3 separate regions of the Homo sapiens genome follow, and regions 2 and 3 are each linked to region 1. Evidence: promoter capture Hi-C in human tissues and cell types (Jung and others, 2019). All regions are on one chromosome and are shown on one strand. The core of a region is centred on a gene start or on the middle of the fragment in contact, and the rest is flanking DNA. Distances in the headings are between cores, read along the strand shown.

Region 1 (5,052 bases), core at 1,418-3,917:
TAAAAATACAAAAATTAGCCGGGTGTGGTGGCGGGTGCCTGTGATCCCAGCTACTCGGGAGGCTGAGGCACGAGAATCGCATGAACCCGGGAAGCAGAGGTTGCAGTGAGCTGAGATTGCACCACTGTACTCCAGCCTGGGTGACAGTGAGACTCTGTCTCAAAAAAAAAAAAAAGTGTGGAGTCTTGTCCCAGCTCCTGAAAACCAGCCCAGGGACAGCTGGCAGCAGACAGTGACCAGGTGGAGCACACAAAAGCTATGCCAACCAGTTACAATAGGTGGGGCAGGGCCCACCAAGGTGCCAATGTGTAGGGGAATTCTCAAAATATGATCTGGGGATGCTTGGGATCCTCAAGATCCTTTCGGGGGGTCTGAGAAGACAAAAGGATTTTCACAATAACACTAAGATGGCATCTGCCTTTTGCACTCTCATTTGCTCTCAAGCATATGGTGGAGTTTCCCAGAACATCACTAGAGGCCTATTTGATTATATACTCTTGTTTGAAAATGTCTCAGTATTAACTTCTAACGTGGTAAATACTGACAGATATATAACTCCAACAAACAAAAGCACTCTGGGGTCCTCAATAATTCTTAAAGTATGAAGTCTTCAGATGAAAGAGTCCAGATCCACTTGTATAGGGCAATGGTGGGAGTGGACAGTGCCCATCAGTTACAATCCGAGCCCTGTCTGCATCCCTCTGCCCGCCCCTCCTCGCTCCCACTCCTTCCCCCATCCCAGGCCCAAGATGCTTTTATCTGACTGGGGAAGTTTGACTTGTGAGATGTCTGAGAATGCTGTGAACATCTTTCAGGATTTCTCACCCCACTGTCAGCCTAACTGGAAATGCTGTGCTAAGTGCTTTAGGATGGGTTCATCCTGTCACTTGAATTTCACAGCAACCATAGAATGCAGGCGTCATCTCATTGTACATATAAGAAAACTGAGCCTCAGAGAGGTTAAGTCACCTGCCCAGTGTCACCCAGCTAAGAAGTGCCACAGTCATGATTTACATAATGGTCTATCTTACTCCCAAGTCTAGGAGTCTCCTCCTGTGCCAAGAACAGGAAACAAAGCTGTGGGTTCAGGCCTCCCAGCAACAAGCCGCTAACAGAATAAATGGGGTGATAAAGAAAAATGAAAACCACTCACGCAACTTCCAGGCTGTCTTGGTGACCACAGGGGTGGCCATCCTTCAGCTGGCTGGCACCTGAAGCCCCACCCACAAAATAAACTGTGCTTTCCTCGTGGGGTGGGGGTGGATCCCCCCCCAGATCCACCAATCAAGTTGGCAGAGAGTTCCCACACATCCAGGCAGACAGAATGCCTCGTCTTCTGGCCCTGGGGTGCCTCGTGGTTCCAAATTACCCACAGCAGCAACAGCAGCAGCCTGTGCACATCTGTCACGATCCTGGATCATGGAATGTTAGGCTCGAGCCATCTCAGCTCAATACAGGGCTGCAATACAAACAAGAGGTGACGTCATGTTAGAAAATGCTTGGTAAGAGCTGTTGCTCCCTGGATCACCAAGACCACTTGATAAAGACTGACACCCACCAAAGCCACCAGAGTCAGAAGCTGCACTGCAAATTAGGTTTGGGAATCTGCAGAGGGGGCACCTCAGGTAGGGTGATTTGGAACGTAAGGAAAAAGAAACTCCTCCCAGAGGCCAGGATAATGAGCTGCAGCTCTGTTCCGGGATGCTGGCTGCCTAAAGTGCAGCAGCCGCAGTGGGGCGGAGAAGACCACGTGTCTGCAATTCACATAGATTTCCTGCGAGTCGTTGTTTTTGTCTGACGTGTGGGATGTGGGAGAGCGGAGTCAGAAGCTAAGCTTAGGGGCCTAGGAAAGGCATCCCAGAGACGGCCACTGAAGTCCTCCTTGGAAAGAATCTCGAAGACGACCCTGATGGTCCAATTCCCCAGCTCCTGGCAAGGGAACCGCTCCTGCTCCCTGCGATTCCCAAGGACAGAGCTAGGAACTAGGCCTCCAGTCTGGGCGTAAGTGGCTATGACTCTTCAACTCTAAAAGGCCTCCTCATGGAGCCTCCCACCTCCTTCCCACAGCCACTTCACCTCTTTCCCATGAGCCCGCTCCCCTCCGTCCCCTTTCTCCTGGGTCCCCGGGTCTGCCTCTCTAGTCCTCCGTTCACACCCCCTTTTCTCCCTGCCCCCTGAGTCTCCCACTTATGCACATCCTGTCTCCCGATATCCCTCACGTGGCCCCTGCCTCGCCAGACTCCCGTTACTGCCCTTTCCCATATGCTCGCGGGGTCTCCCATTCATTCATTCTCCTACTTCTCTTCTCCCTATTCATTACCTGTCCTTCTGCAGACCCCCAGCTCTGCTTCCGGCCTCCCTGGTTTTGCCCCCTCCGGCCTCCACCCCGACCCCTCTCGTCCGGGGGCGGGGGCAGGTCCCTCGGCCACGGCTGATCCTCCCAACCCTCTGCTTGCGGAGTACGGGCTCTAGCCTCCCCACGCTCAGAGCTCTCTGCCCGCAAGCCCAGCCAGCCCCGCCTGGCTCGGCCCAGCCCAGGGCCCACCGTCCCCTCGCCACCTCGTCCCCTTGCCCACTCCACCTGCAGCTGCGGCTCCGGAGGCCGAGGCTCCGCTCCAGGCGCGACCCCCACTTGCCTCCATCCCCTGCCTTGATTGGCCGCTGCTTGACAACCGACCCTCACAACAAAACCTCCGGCTCAGAGCCCCGCCCACCTTGCCTCCCGCACCAATCAGCTGCCGCGGGTGCTCCGCCTCCTGCCAGGACTGACCAATGGAAGCAGGCGCTTCTGCCGCTTTTCCTCAGTACCCGCCCTCTTTTCCTAAATAGGACTAATCAAGAGGAAGGAACGTTCAAGAGCCGCCCCTTGGCCTCTAATAAACCAATGCAAGCTGCCGTTTCCTTAGTCCCGCCTCCGTCTCAAGTTTTCCCTTTCCTCTCCGTTTCCTCCCTCGAACCTAATTTGTGTCTGAAAACTTTTGAGAGCCGCCCTCCAATGGCGGCTGCGCCAATGGCTTGAGCAACCGTCCTGGATTGACCAATCAGCGTCCGCATTATTGGAAAACTCAATTCCCAGATAGCCAATGGGAAAGGAACTTCGGGGGCAGTGTGAAGCCTCAGGCCTTCCATCTTGGAGTGGGGCAAAACCTAAGGAGGCCTTAGTCGGCATTTTGCCGAAGCTCCTCATTCTTCACTTTGCCTGCAGATGGTCCCCCGTGGCAGGAGGACTTTGTCCCTGTTCTTTGACCCGGACGCCGGCTTGAATCCCCCATGGGAGGTCTAGAAGGAAACAGCCTGATTCCGGAGCCGAGGCAGGCGCTGAACCCTGTAGCACTGCACACGCAGCCACCGCCTCGACTAATGGATGCGTGGGCAAGGGGCTGCTCCCTGAATGGCTGCAATCAGGGAATCGGAGAAAGGCCAGCTTTATTTGTGACACGTTGGGCGGGGTGGGCTCTGGGAAGCGCCGTAACCCTTCTCGACTCAGGGCCTCTCGCGTGGCCGCTTAGGAGGGACTTGGCCCCGCAGCCGCCTCTCCCTGTTGCCCAGAGGTTGTCCCAGGCACCCAGAGCCCCTCGAACCTTGCCCTTCGGCCTCCAGCCTCTCACCGCAGGTCAGGGCTCCTTGGGCTCACATAACGCCCAGTACAACCATAAGAGGTAGGAATTCCTGTTCCCATTTACAGATGAGGAAACTGAGGCCCGGGTTAAGATGCTTGCAGAAAACCACACGGTCAGAAAGTAATAGCCCCAGAATTCGAACCCTTGTTCTGAAAGCCAAAGCGTGGGGGAGTCCCCACTCTGCCTTCTGCTTCAGCCTTCTGCTTCAGATTCTCCTGCTTCAGCCTCCTGGGTAGCTGGAACCACAGGCGCCCGCCACCACGACGGGCTAAGGCTAGTTTTTATATTTTTAGTAGAGACGGGGTTTCTCCATTTTGGCCAGGCTGGTCTTGAACTCCTGACCTTAGGTGATCCACCCGCCCCAGCCTCCCGAAGTGCTGGGATTACAGGCGTGAGTCACCGCAAGACACCTTTAAAAGATTAGCAGAATAACATCGGATCAAAACTGTCTAGCCTGCAGTTCCCCTTAATTTTGTATTATAAAAAGAAAACTAAACAGAGAAAACTTTAAAAGACAATATAATGATACCACGTAGATTCCAGTACTTGTTAACAGTTTGCCATATTTGCTTCGTCTGTGTGTCTTTTCGGAACCATTTGAAAATTGTAGATATGACATTTCACCCCAACACCAAATACTGAGCATGTATCTCTTAAAAATAAGGCCCTTGGCCAGGCGCGGTGGCTCACGCCTGCAATCCCAGCACTTTGGGAGGCCAAGGCGGGCGGATCACCTGAGGTCAGGAGTCCGAGACCAACCTGGCCAACATGGTGAAACCCCGTCTCTACAAAAAAATACAAAAATTAGCCGGGCGTGGTGGCGCACGTGCCTATAATCCTAGCTACTGGGGAGGCTGAGGCAGGAGAATCACTTGAAACTGGGAAGCAGAGGTTGCGGTGAGCTGGGATGGGGCCACTGTACTCCAGCCTGGGCGACAGAGTGAGATCCATTTCAAAAAATAAAAATAAAGCCCTTATTCTACAATAACCATTGTTATCACCACTGCTAAGAAAATTTAATTCTGTAACAACCAGTCCATATTCGTATGTCCCCAGTCATCCCAAAAACCTTTTAGGACTTTTTTTTTCTAACTAAGAACCAATCAGTATTCACCACACTTGACTCTTAAGTTCTTTCCATTTCTGTCCCCAAACTTTTATTTTTATGACATCGATCTTTTGAAGAGATCAGGCCATTTACCTAGATTGTCCCACGTTAGGAATGTTTCCTTTTAGTATCATTTACCTGAATTTCCTGAAGTTCTTGTTAGATGGACGTTCTTCTTAAATGCATTTCTTCCCTTGAATTTCTTAAGTTAGGGCTAAAGGCTTGATTAGATTCATGACAACAAGCAGTCAAAAACACTCCAGAGGACACATTGTAAGTGCACAAGGTTGATGAATTTTTACAAACCGAACACACCCAGGTCAA
Region 2 (5,052 bases), core at 1,108-3,607, 540 kb after region 1:
CTGGGTGACAGAGCAAGACTCTGTCTCCAAAGAAAAAAAAAAAAAAGCCTGCAGAACACCCCAAAGACCACAATCTTCTTACTGAAGATTGTGTTTAAATAGGGAAAATCTCAAGTCAACAATACTGATTTGGTAATGCATGAAGATTACACTTGCCAGCTGAAACAGAAACTACCTAAAGATGTTTCAACAAGAGTGTTTCTGTCTTTAGACTCTAAAGCCTCTGGTATTTCATTGGGGAAGGTAAGAAGGGGGTAGATTGTGAAATATTTGGTTGGAATTTTACTTTTCCCACAAAAAGAAAGGTTGTCTTGATGAGGCGTTTTTACTTGCCTCCCAGATGTCCAAAGCTATCTAACCGTAGGTTTAGGTCACACAGAGTACCATTAACTCCTGAACTGTAACTGTCAAGAAGTCTGGGAAAAGCACTGGATGATTCTGACATTTCCCTTATGCACTGAGGATCTTTAAGAAAGCACACCTTTGAAAGTAGGTATTTTTTTCTGGTTGAAAGACTATCTGAGCAGGGCATGGTGGCTCACACCTGTAATCCCAACACTCTGGGAGGCCAAGGCAGGCAGACAGCTTGAGCCCAAGAATTTGAGACCAGCCTGGGCAACATGGCGAAACCCTGTTTCTACAAAAAATACACAAATTAGCCAGAGTGGCGGCTTGGACCCTATAGTCCAGCTACTGGGAAGGGCAGTGGGAGTGAGGGGTGGGAGGATCGCCTGAGCTGGGGAGGTCGAGGCTGCAGTAAACCATGATCGCACCACTGCACTTCAGCCTAGGAGACAGAGTGAGACCTTAAAAAAAAAAAAAAAAAAAAGAGTCTCTGGAAAAACCTTCCTCTAAAAAGTTGAGAGCTTTTTTAACCTAGTAGCAGTGCATCTGTGGTCAGAAAGAATTACAGAATATAGTCCTGACCTAAAATGGTACAAAGGAGAAAAGACAAATCCTTTCAGCATTCAAATAATTTACTAAAAAATAAAATTTAGGCCTAGGATAGAGTAAGGAATTTCCGGAAGCAAATAATAGTAAAAAAGGGGAAGTAAATAATCCCTGCCTGAAATCTTAAGGATTGAAAAATTTGCCTTGGACTCCCAAAAAATACTAAGGAAGAATTGAGGTAAATGCTTATGACGGTTGCAGTACAGGGAAGAAAAACAAATGTAATATTCCGTAGTACTTGTGGTTTTCCCCCCAGGAGGCCAAATAATAGGAGATCATGTGTTATTCAAATATACACAAATCTGAAGGAAAAGGATTTTTCTATTACAGAAAACTCTCTGCTCTTAAGAAAAGCAAATAAAATATATAAGCAGCATGAATATCAACATTTTCCTTAATGATGTCTACTTTAAATGATGTCTAAAACACTCATACTGCATACTCATTTGGATACTTATTAGACCCTAATATGTATTCAATAAATATCTTAGGTGAATTTATTCTAAAATCTGTAACATAAAGTCTCTCCAAAATATTTACCATTTTGAAAAACTGAGACAACACCATTCAATAACTATATATCCAATGCTTATATGGCAGGCAGTGAGGAAAGACGGAAAAAGGTCCCTCATGCTCCTGACAAAGGGAGCTGGGGTTAGGGACAAACTTAGCTCCCTACCCAAAGACTACAGATAAAGCATCTACTAGAAGGAGGCCTCTTGTTCCATCAGTTTTCCAGTGTAAAAGGAACTTTGGTAACACTGAAGTACCTCTGTGTGAGCAAGTTTTTAGGTGACTATACAAATCAGCAATAGCAAAAGGGGACTAGAGAATCTATCTTTGCATTGTAACACATTTATGTCTTACATTATAAGCCAAAATATTGTTGGTATAAATATTCCTGCCCACACAATGAAAAGTAAACAAAAAAACCTATAAATTAAATTGATAAAGATGAAGTTAAATAAAAATTCTAATAAAAAAAGAGGAATCATGATGAAAACTGACATTATTTTGAGACAATTCAGATGATGCACCCCAAACTAAGCATACTTCCTGAATACTGCAGGAATCCCCATTCTGCATATGACATGTGAGAAGCTTGTATTGGTGCCAGGTTTCCCAGGACAGACTTCCTGGGCGAAAAAAGTATTAAGAGACCACAGTAAACTCCAATATTGTTCTAGTTTTAGGTTATGAATACCATGTTTTAGTAATCCTTAGTAATTCACTTGGTAGGTTATTAATAAGTAGCCCTTAGGCATACCTAAGTATGAACAACTATGAAGCAATAAAAACTTAAAAAAACAAACAAACAGTGCTATATTTCCCATGTGGAGGGACTGGGCAGAAACCACATCTTGAGAATCACTGCATTAAGGGAACACAAGAGCGAAAACAATTCTTCAGGAGGTAGAGGGGTAAGAAAAAACTAACACTGAACATTAAACTATGAGGTAATATACTTGCTGAGTAAGGTATTTCAAACCTTCTATTTGAGGTACATAGGACCTATGAAATTACGCCTGGAAACTATAATTTCAAGCAACAAGAAAGCTATGTGCAGAGTTCATTCCTTAACAAATTTAAGGAGTACATAAATTCCTTACTATTTCAAATGTATTCTCAGTTTTCAAAAGCTCAGAAACAAAGCGGAATGTTCTCTAAGAGGCCACCACTATTTATAAGATAACTTTTCCTGATTTAACCTTGTATATACCACACATTTATCTAAAGTTACTACTTTTACATATTTAACCAGCAACCACTCCCTTTTGGAATGGACACATTTGTATGTTTTCTCTACTCACAAAGGTTGGCAAGAAAAGGATTTCAAAAGCTGACTTACTGAATGATAAACCAAAGGGAAATATTCACTCCTTTGCACTTCTAAAAGTTGTAAAAGTCCCCTCCAAAAGGCTGTTGCCCAAGTTACGGCATTTACTACTTCGTGATTATTCTGCTTTTCAATTTTCTAATTTGAATATCAGGGAAAAAACTACCCAAATTCAATGATAACTGCCTTGAAAATGCCAAAAGCTTGAAGAGAAGCTAAATCCATAGTTTATTATCCCCAAATAATTCTTTTGAAATAGATTGCTGGTTCCACTGTGTTTCCCATTTGTGGTGACTACTGACTTTCCACTTATTTTGCAATCCTGAGACTATCACACCCCACTTTACAAGTATCCTACTAAAAAATACAGAACATTTCCTATTTATTTATTTGAGACAGGGTGTTGCTCTGTCACCCAGGCTGGAATGCAGTGGCTCACTGCATCTTCAACCTCCCAGGCTCAAGAGATTCTACCACCTCAGCCTCCCAAGTAGCTGGGACTATCTGCATGTGCCACCACGCTGGGCTAATTTTTGTATTTTTTTGTAGAGATGGGGTTTTGCCATGTTGCCCAGGCTGGTCTTGAACTCCTGGGCTCAAGTGATCCTCCCGCCTTGGCCGCCCAAAGTGTTGTGATTATAGGTGTGAGCCACCATGCCCAGCCATAACTTCCAATCTTAAGTAGTGTAATAGTGATTACTACCTTCAAGAATTCCTAACATTTTCTCCAAACTATATAGAGTGTGAAAGAAAGCTGTATTTAAAAAGATGCAAAGGGATTTCCCACTTCATTAGAACAAATTACTTCATTGTTAAGGAAAGCATATACAATTCTCAACAGACTAAATTAAGCTCACGAGGCCAGGCATGGTGGCTCACACCTGTAATCCTAGCACCTTGGGAGGCCAAGGTGGGTGGATGGCTTGTGCCCAGGAGTTTGAGACCAGCCTGGGCAACATGGCGTAACCCTGTCTTAAAAAAAGTGCAAAAATTGGCCAGGTGTGGTGGCTCGCACCTGTAGTCCCAGTTACTTGGGAGGCTGATGTGGGAGGATCACCTGAGCCTGGGAGGTAGAGGCTTCTGTGAGCCGTGATTGCACCACTGCACTCTAGCCTGAGAGACAGCATGAGACCCTGTCTCAAAAAAAAAAAAAAAAGAAAAGAAAAGAAAAAGAAAAAACAGAAAAAAAGAAATACAGAATAATTGTTTGTTAAACTCTTGACAAAACACACTTTTTTTTTTTTTAGCCTCCAGGCCCCACAGTGCTACATAACTCAGATTTGTTGTTTTTACCTGATTCACTACAGATTAACACACTATTATACAAAATGCTAAGTTTTTATTTCCCTTTGATACTTACTAAATGAAAAGTTATTTTGCTGACAAAAGCAGAAGCCCACATAGAGTATGCTGGTATACCTCCTATAATCAATAACTTGAAAATAATCACTGAGGGCCAGGCACAGTAGCTCATGCCTGTAATCCCAGCACTTTGGGAGGCCAAGGTGGGCAGATCACTTTGAGCTCAGGAGTTCAAGACCAGCCTGACCAACACGGTGAAACTCCCTCTCTACTAAAAATACAAAAATTAGCCAGGCACGGGTGGTGCTTGCCTGTAATCCCAGTTACTTGGGAGGCTGAGGCAGAAGAATTGCTTGAACCCGGGAGGCAGAGGTTGCAGTGAGCTGAGATCGCGCCATTGCACTCCAGCCTGAGGAACAAGAGGGAATCTCGGTCTCAAAAAAAAAAAAAAAAAAAAGTCACTGAGTACAGAAAAAAGCATAACATAGAAAGACATTAAATAGTAGGTTAGGGCAACATGCATCCTGGGAGATCAAATAACTCACAATCACCAGTTATAGTTTTTAAAAAGATCCACAGAATATAGGATCACAAAAACAGAAAATTCAGAGCAGTACAAAAATTACTTCGAAAGGCAGACACAGTGGCTCACGCCTGTAATCCCGGCACTTTGGGAGGCCGAGGCAGGCGGATTACAGGACGTCGGGAGTTCGACACCAGCCTGACCAACACGGAGAAACCTCGTCTCTACTAAAAATACAAAATTAGCTGGGCGTGGTGGTACATGCCTGTAATCCCAGCTACTCCGGAGGCTGAGGCAGGAGAATCGCTTGAACCCAGGAGGCGGAGGTTGCAGTGAGCCGAGATAGCGCCACTGCACTCCAGCCTGGGCAACAAGAACGAAACTCCGTCTCAAAAAACAAACAAACAAAAAAACCAAAAACACAACTAAATTACTTCGG
Region 3 (5,052 bases), core at 1,284-3,783, 520 kb before region 1:
TTATTATCTTACAGTTCTGGAGGTCAGGAGTCTGAAATGGGTTGGGAGGCTCAAATCAGGATCTCAGCAGGGCTGCATTTCTTCCCAAGGCTCTAGGGGAGACTCTGTTTCCTTGTCATTTCCAGCTTCTAGAGGCTGTCTGCAGTCCTTGACTCCTGACCCCTTCTCCCTCTCATGAAAGCTCATCACTCTGATCTCTGCTTCTGTTATCATAGCTTCTCCCACCCTCCTGCTTCCCACTGATAAGGAGGGAGATTATATAGGGCCCACCCAGGTAATTCAAGACCATCTCCCCATCTCAAGATCCTAAATTAATCACATCTGCAAAATCCTTTTTGCCATGTAAGTTAATGTATTCACAGATTCCAGGGTTTAGGATATGGATATTTTGGGGTGGGGGTGGGAACCTTATTCAGCCTACCACAGTAACCTTAAAAAGAAACAGAGAGAGAGAGAAAAAGGACCACATACCTGCCTCAATTGTAAAAGCATTTTTTTCCTCTGAACTTTGAGAGAAACATTTTTCAAACGTAATTTCTCCTTCATATTATCCTAAAACATAAAGGCATATTTTAATGCATTTAATCCATTTCTCTCCTTTTTCCCATTGGTTTGAAAAGTGGATGGTTCTGGGGCTGCAAACCAAACCTTGAGCCCTAACATTCTGTCACTTATTTTAGGTCCTTTTACTTCTACTCAAGCTGGGGCTGGTATGACATTTCATGACCAAGAAGCAGAGGACACTGGTTTTGCACCATGCAAATTTTATATTGCTTTCAAATTCAAGATTATTTGGGTGTATGCTACTGTAGGGGCCTTTCCTGACAAAATGATCTTACGATTTTTTGGTCTTGTATTCCCACGGTAGTTTACATAATTTTTATTACTGTTAACATATTAGGATTAGTAATAACCCTACCTTGTCTCCAGGATCTAAAGCTTGACGTGTTGTAAAAATCTCTGGAAATGAAGGTTACCCCCCAAATTCTCCTTTTTTCTCATAACAGCCCAAGGTCCATCTCCTGATAACAAAGGATCTCAAAGAGCTTGAGATTCACCCAGTAATCCCAGCACTTTGGGAGGCCAAGGTGGGTGGACTGTTGGAGCCCAAGAGTTCAAGACCAGCCTGGGCAACACAGTGAGACCTCATCTCTATAACAATTTTTTTAAAGGTTTTTTTAAAATTTTGAAAAAGAGATTTACCTGTCCTACTCCACAGTCACCTCTCTAGATAGGCTGGACCAGACCAGTCTCATACCTTTCTCAAGAAAATATATCAGATCTTGAAACAAATAACAAAACAAAAAACAGAGATCAATCTGAGGTACTGTTAGTATACCTCCTGCCTGGCTGGTGTTAGCCTTGATAAACACGCATTTATTTATTTATTTATTTATTTATTTATTTATTTATTTATTTATTTTTTCTGAGACGGAGTCTTGCTCTGCTGCCCAGGCTGGAGTGCAGTGGCATGATCTTGGCTCACCGCAATCTCCGCCTCCCAGGCTCAAGCGATTCTCCTGCCTCAGCCTCCCGAGCAGCTGGGATTACAGGCACAAACACCTCGCCCAGCTAATTTTTGTATTTTTAGTAGAGATGGGGTTTCACCATGTTGGCCAGGCTGGTCCTCCAGCTCAGATGATCCACCCGCCTCAGCCTCCCAAAGTGCTGGGATTACAGGCATGAGCCACTGCACCTAGCCATAAACATACATTTTAAAACATGCATATACACATACACTTTCAGGGATGCAAAGAAAATCCGCATATGTGGGCAACATTTATGGTGGACCAAAGGGAGCTAGGCTGCTTCACATGGATGATTTCCATAACATCCCTGTAAGAATGTTTTTTCCCTTTCTAAGCTCTGTCTGCCAACTTACCCTCCGGCGGTTCATGTCCTCAATGTATTTCATCACTTTCTGAGTGGCCAAAATACTCCCTTTCTTCTTGGATATGGCTTTTAGAATATCTTTTTCAAACTCATGCACTTCTCTCGAAACTTCACTCCATCGAATTTCAGCCTCCTCAATGATCGCCTGGGGGAGTCAGCACAAAGAGAGAAGAACGTTTCCAGCAATCTTCAAGGATGTGTCTTCTAAGAAAACCTAAGTTCCCAGGCCTCTTTGTGTCCCAAAATATTATGTTTCTTCTTAGTCTTAGGAACATATCCTTAAGATACAAACTTGACTATATCAATGTTATTAGTTAAAAGCATTCTTCAAAAAAATAGAATCCATAAAAAGAGAGCAAACAAAAACAGGTGTCAGGTATCTATCTTTTTTTTTTTTTTTTTTTTGAGACAGAGTCTCGCTCTATTGCCCAGGCTGGAGTGCAGTGATACAATCTCACCTCATTGCAACCTCCGCCTCCTCGGTTCGAGCAATTCTCCTGCCTCAGCCTCCTGAGTAGCTGGGACTACAGGCACCTGCCACCACGCCTGGCTAATTTGTGTATTTTTAGTAGAGAAGGGGTTTCACCAAGTTGGCCCAGCTGGTCTTGAACTCCTGACCTCAGGTGATCCGCCCACCTCGGCCTCCCAAAGTGCTGGGACTACAGGCATGAGCCACCGCGCCTGGCCAAGCTATCTATCTAAATATGTATTTCCATATTTGAAATTATTTATCCATTAAAAATATCTGGAAGGATATACATCAAAACATGAATGACAGTTACATCTAGAGAGATGGATTAGTGGGGAAATAAATAGGCACTCTTATTATATTTCTGTTATTAAAAAAAAAAAAAGACTTTATATTTCCAAGCCTGAGTATTGGGGGGAAAAATGGAAAAAAAAATAAAGAAGATATTATAAAGTCAGGTATGGTGCCTGTAGTCCCAGCTGCTCAGGAGGCTGAGGCAAGAGGATTGTTGGAGGCCAGAAGTTCGAGGCTGTAGTGTGCTATGATTGCGACCGCGAATAGCCACTGCACTCCAGCCTGAGCAACGCAGTGAGGCCCCATCTCTTAAAAATAAAAAAAAAGATGTTATAAAATGAAAATATGTATTGACGTAAAGAGATGTTGTTAAGTGAAAAATACAGTTTACAAAATAACATGATACTATTTTTGGAAGAAATTCATATATGCAGGCTGGGCGCGGTGGCTCACGCCTGTAATCCCAGCACTTTGGGAGGCCGAGGCGGGCGGATCACGAGGTCAGGAGATCGAGACCATCCCGGCTAAAACGGTGAAACCCCGTCTCTACTAAAAATACAAAAAATTAGCCGGGCGTAGTGGCGGGCGCCTGTAGTCCCAGCTACTTGGGAGGCTGAGGCAGGAGAATGGCGTGAACCCGGGAGGCAGAGCTTGCAGTGAGCCGAGATCCCGCCACTGCACTCCAGCCTGGGCGACAGAGCGAGACTCCGTCTCAAAAAAAAAAAAAAAAAAAAAGAAATTCATATATGCATAGAAAATTATCTAAACTGTAGGAGGTAAATGGAAAGTCAACAGAAATTACCTCTGAGTGGTAAATTGTGAATGTTTTCAAATGTTCTTTTAGCTTAACTGTATTTTTCAACATTCTACAACATAGATTGCCTTGAAATAAGAACACACACACACACATATTACTATAAAAAATAAAATGGAATGGTATCTCTAGCCAGACTGCAAATCATCCTAGTTCAGACTTTTTTTCTGAACACCAAGAGGCAAAAGCATTTTCACTGGCCGGCCTCAGGCTCCAGCCCCATCATCTCCACATGGTAGAACATCAACCCACCTGAAATGCTACTTTCAACACATTGCTCTCCTACTCAAGTATCCTCAGTGGGGTCCAGCTTTCTAAGACATCAAAGATAAACTCCTTGGCATGGCTGTCAAGAAATCATTGCCTTACTCAACCTGACTTCCTAAAGCAGCCTCCAAAGTAGCGTCTTCTCTAATCACACCGGCCTCCTCAATGTCATGCTTGTGCCCACCTCCACTGCCTTGCCCATGTCATTCTCCTTACCTGGGGTGCCCTTCTTTCCCTGTGCTTTAAACAGATGCCATCATTCTTCAAGATCATGCCAAGTCTCTTTTAAGCCCTACCTCCTCAACAAATTCTTTTTGACCACTCTAGCCCATACTGATCTCTGATCTCTGCACTTGATGCTCACATTGCACAACCTAGCGGGTCAGGATAATGCTACCACATCCCAAGCTCCTTTAACTTGCTAGAATTCAACAATGCATGTTTAGAAAGAGAGAGAGGAGGGGTGGGAGAGCAGGATCAGTTGATGTGATACAGACGGTTGCATCAATGGGAGACATGAGTCTACTGACTGGTCCCTCTTGAGACGAGTGTGATTCTGCGAATGCCCACATTTAGAAACAGAAAAATAGAAAACTTTAGAAATAGAACAGAAGTATCTACTTTTCATACAACATGGCTCTCAAATGCAAGCCAACAACGTCATCCTGTGGGCAACCGAATTAACAGTGATGTTTCTTCTCTGGAGGAAACTGACTGTATTGGACTCACTAAGAGACACTACTATATTGTTCTGTAACAGGGCACAAACCATGGGCACGTGTGCCGTATAGAAATGCTGACCTAGGGGCCGGGCGCGATGGCTCACGCCTGTAATCCCAGCACTTTGGGAGGCTGAGGCGAGTGGATCACAAGGTCAGGAGATCGAGACCATCCTGGCTAACATGGTGAAACCCCGTCTCTACTAAAAATACAAAAAAAATTAGCTGGGTGTGGTGGCGGCAGGAGCCTGTAGTCCCAGCTACTCGGGAGGCTGAGGCAGGAGAATGGTGTGAACCTGGGAGGCGGAGCTGGGATCGCACCACTGCACTCCAGCCTGGGCAACTGAGCAAGACTCCATCCCAAAAAAAAAAAAAAAGAAAGAAATGCTGACCTAGGGACTTTTTACTCAATTCACTGACTGTGATGGTTAATATTAGGTGTCAACTTGACTGGATTCAGGGATGCCTAGATGGCTGGTAAAGTATTGTTTCTGGGTGTGACTGTGAGGGTGTTGCCAGAAGAGAATGATATTTGAGTCAGTGGACTGGGCGGGGGGAAGATCCACCCTCAGTGTGGGTGGGCACCATCCAATTGG

Evidence for each region. The method cuts DNA at HindIII sites, captures the fragments that hold promoters and counts their contacts. A contact is called where the count stands out against the background at its distance.
Region 2: a fragment that was not itself captured here is called in contact with the fragment with the promoter of KATNB1 in region 1 in 1 of the 25 tissues and cell types used here (bladder).
Region 3: a fragment that was not itself captured here is called in contact with the fragment with the promoter of KATNB1 in region 1 in 1 of the 25 tissues and cell types used here (lymphoblastoid cells).

Annotation. Positions count from the first base shown.
Region 1 is chr16:57,733,385-57,738,436 of GRCh38, reverse strand. It overlaps KATNB1 (katanin regulatory subunit B1), which reads right to left and starts at 2,667. Exons shown (of 20, transcript NM_005886.3): 1 at 2,582-2,667; 2 at 1,154-1,459. The coding sequence starts at 1,193. LOC107984852 (a long non-coding RNA gene) reads left to right here and starts at 1,793. Exons shown (of 2, transcript XR_001752221.3): 1 at 1,793-2,001; 2 at 2,830-4,608. RefSeq lists enhancers at 1,472-1,541, 2,910-3,079, 2,826-3,120, 3,100-3,209, 3,839-4,816 and a silencer at 2,360-2,599. The HindIII fragment of the contact is 17,781 bases long and covers 1-5,052 here.
Region 2 is chr16:57,188,486-57,193,537 of GRCh38, reverse strand. All of the region lies in intron 1 of RSPRY1 (ring finger and SPRY domain containing 1), which reads right to left. Among named protein-coding and RNA genes, the nearest start is that of RSPRY1, 4.7 kb to the right of the region's middle. The HindIII fragment of the contact is 4,068 bases long and covers 324-4,391 here.
Region 3 is chr16:58,255,354-58,260,405 of GRCh38, reverse strand. CFAP263 (cilia and flagella associated protein 263) reads right to left here. Exons shown (of 9, transcript NM_014157.4): 4 at 1,883-2,038; 5 at 472-552. Among named protein-coding and RNA genes, the nearest start is that of CFAP263, 7.9 kb to the right of the region's middle. RefSeq lists a silencer at 2,384-2,533. The HindIII fragment of the contact is 5,304 bases long and covers 1-5,052 here.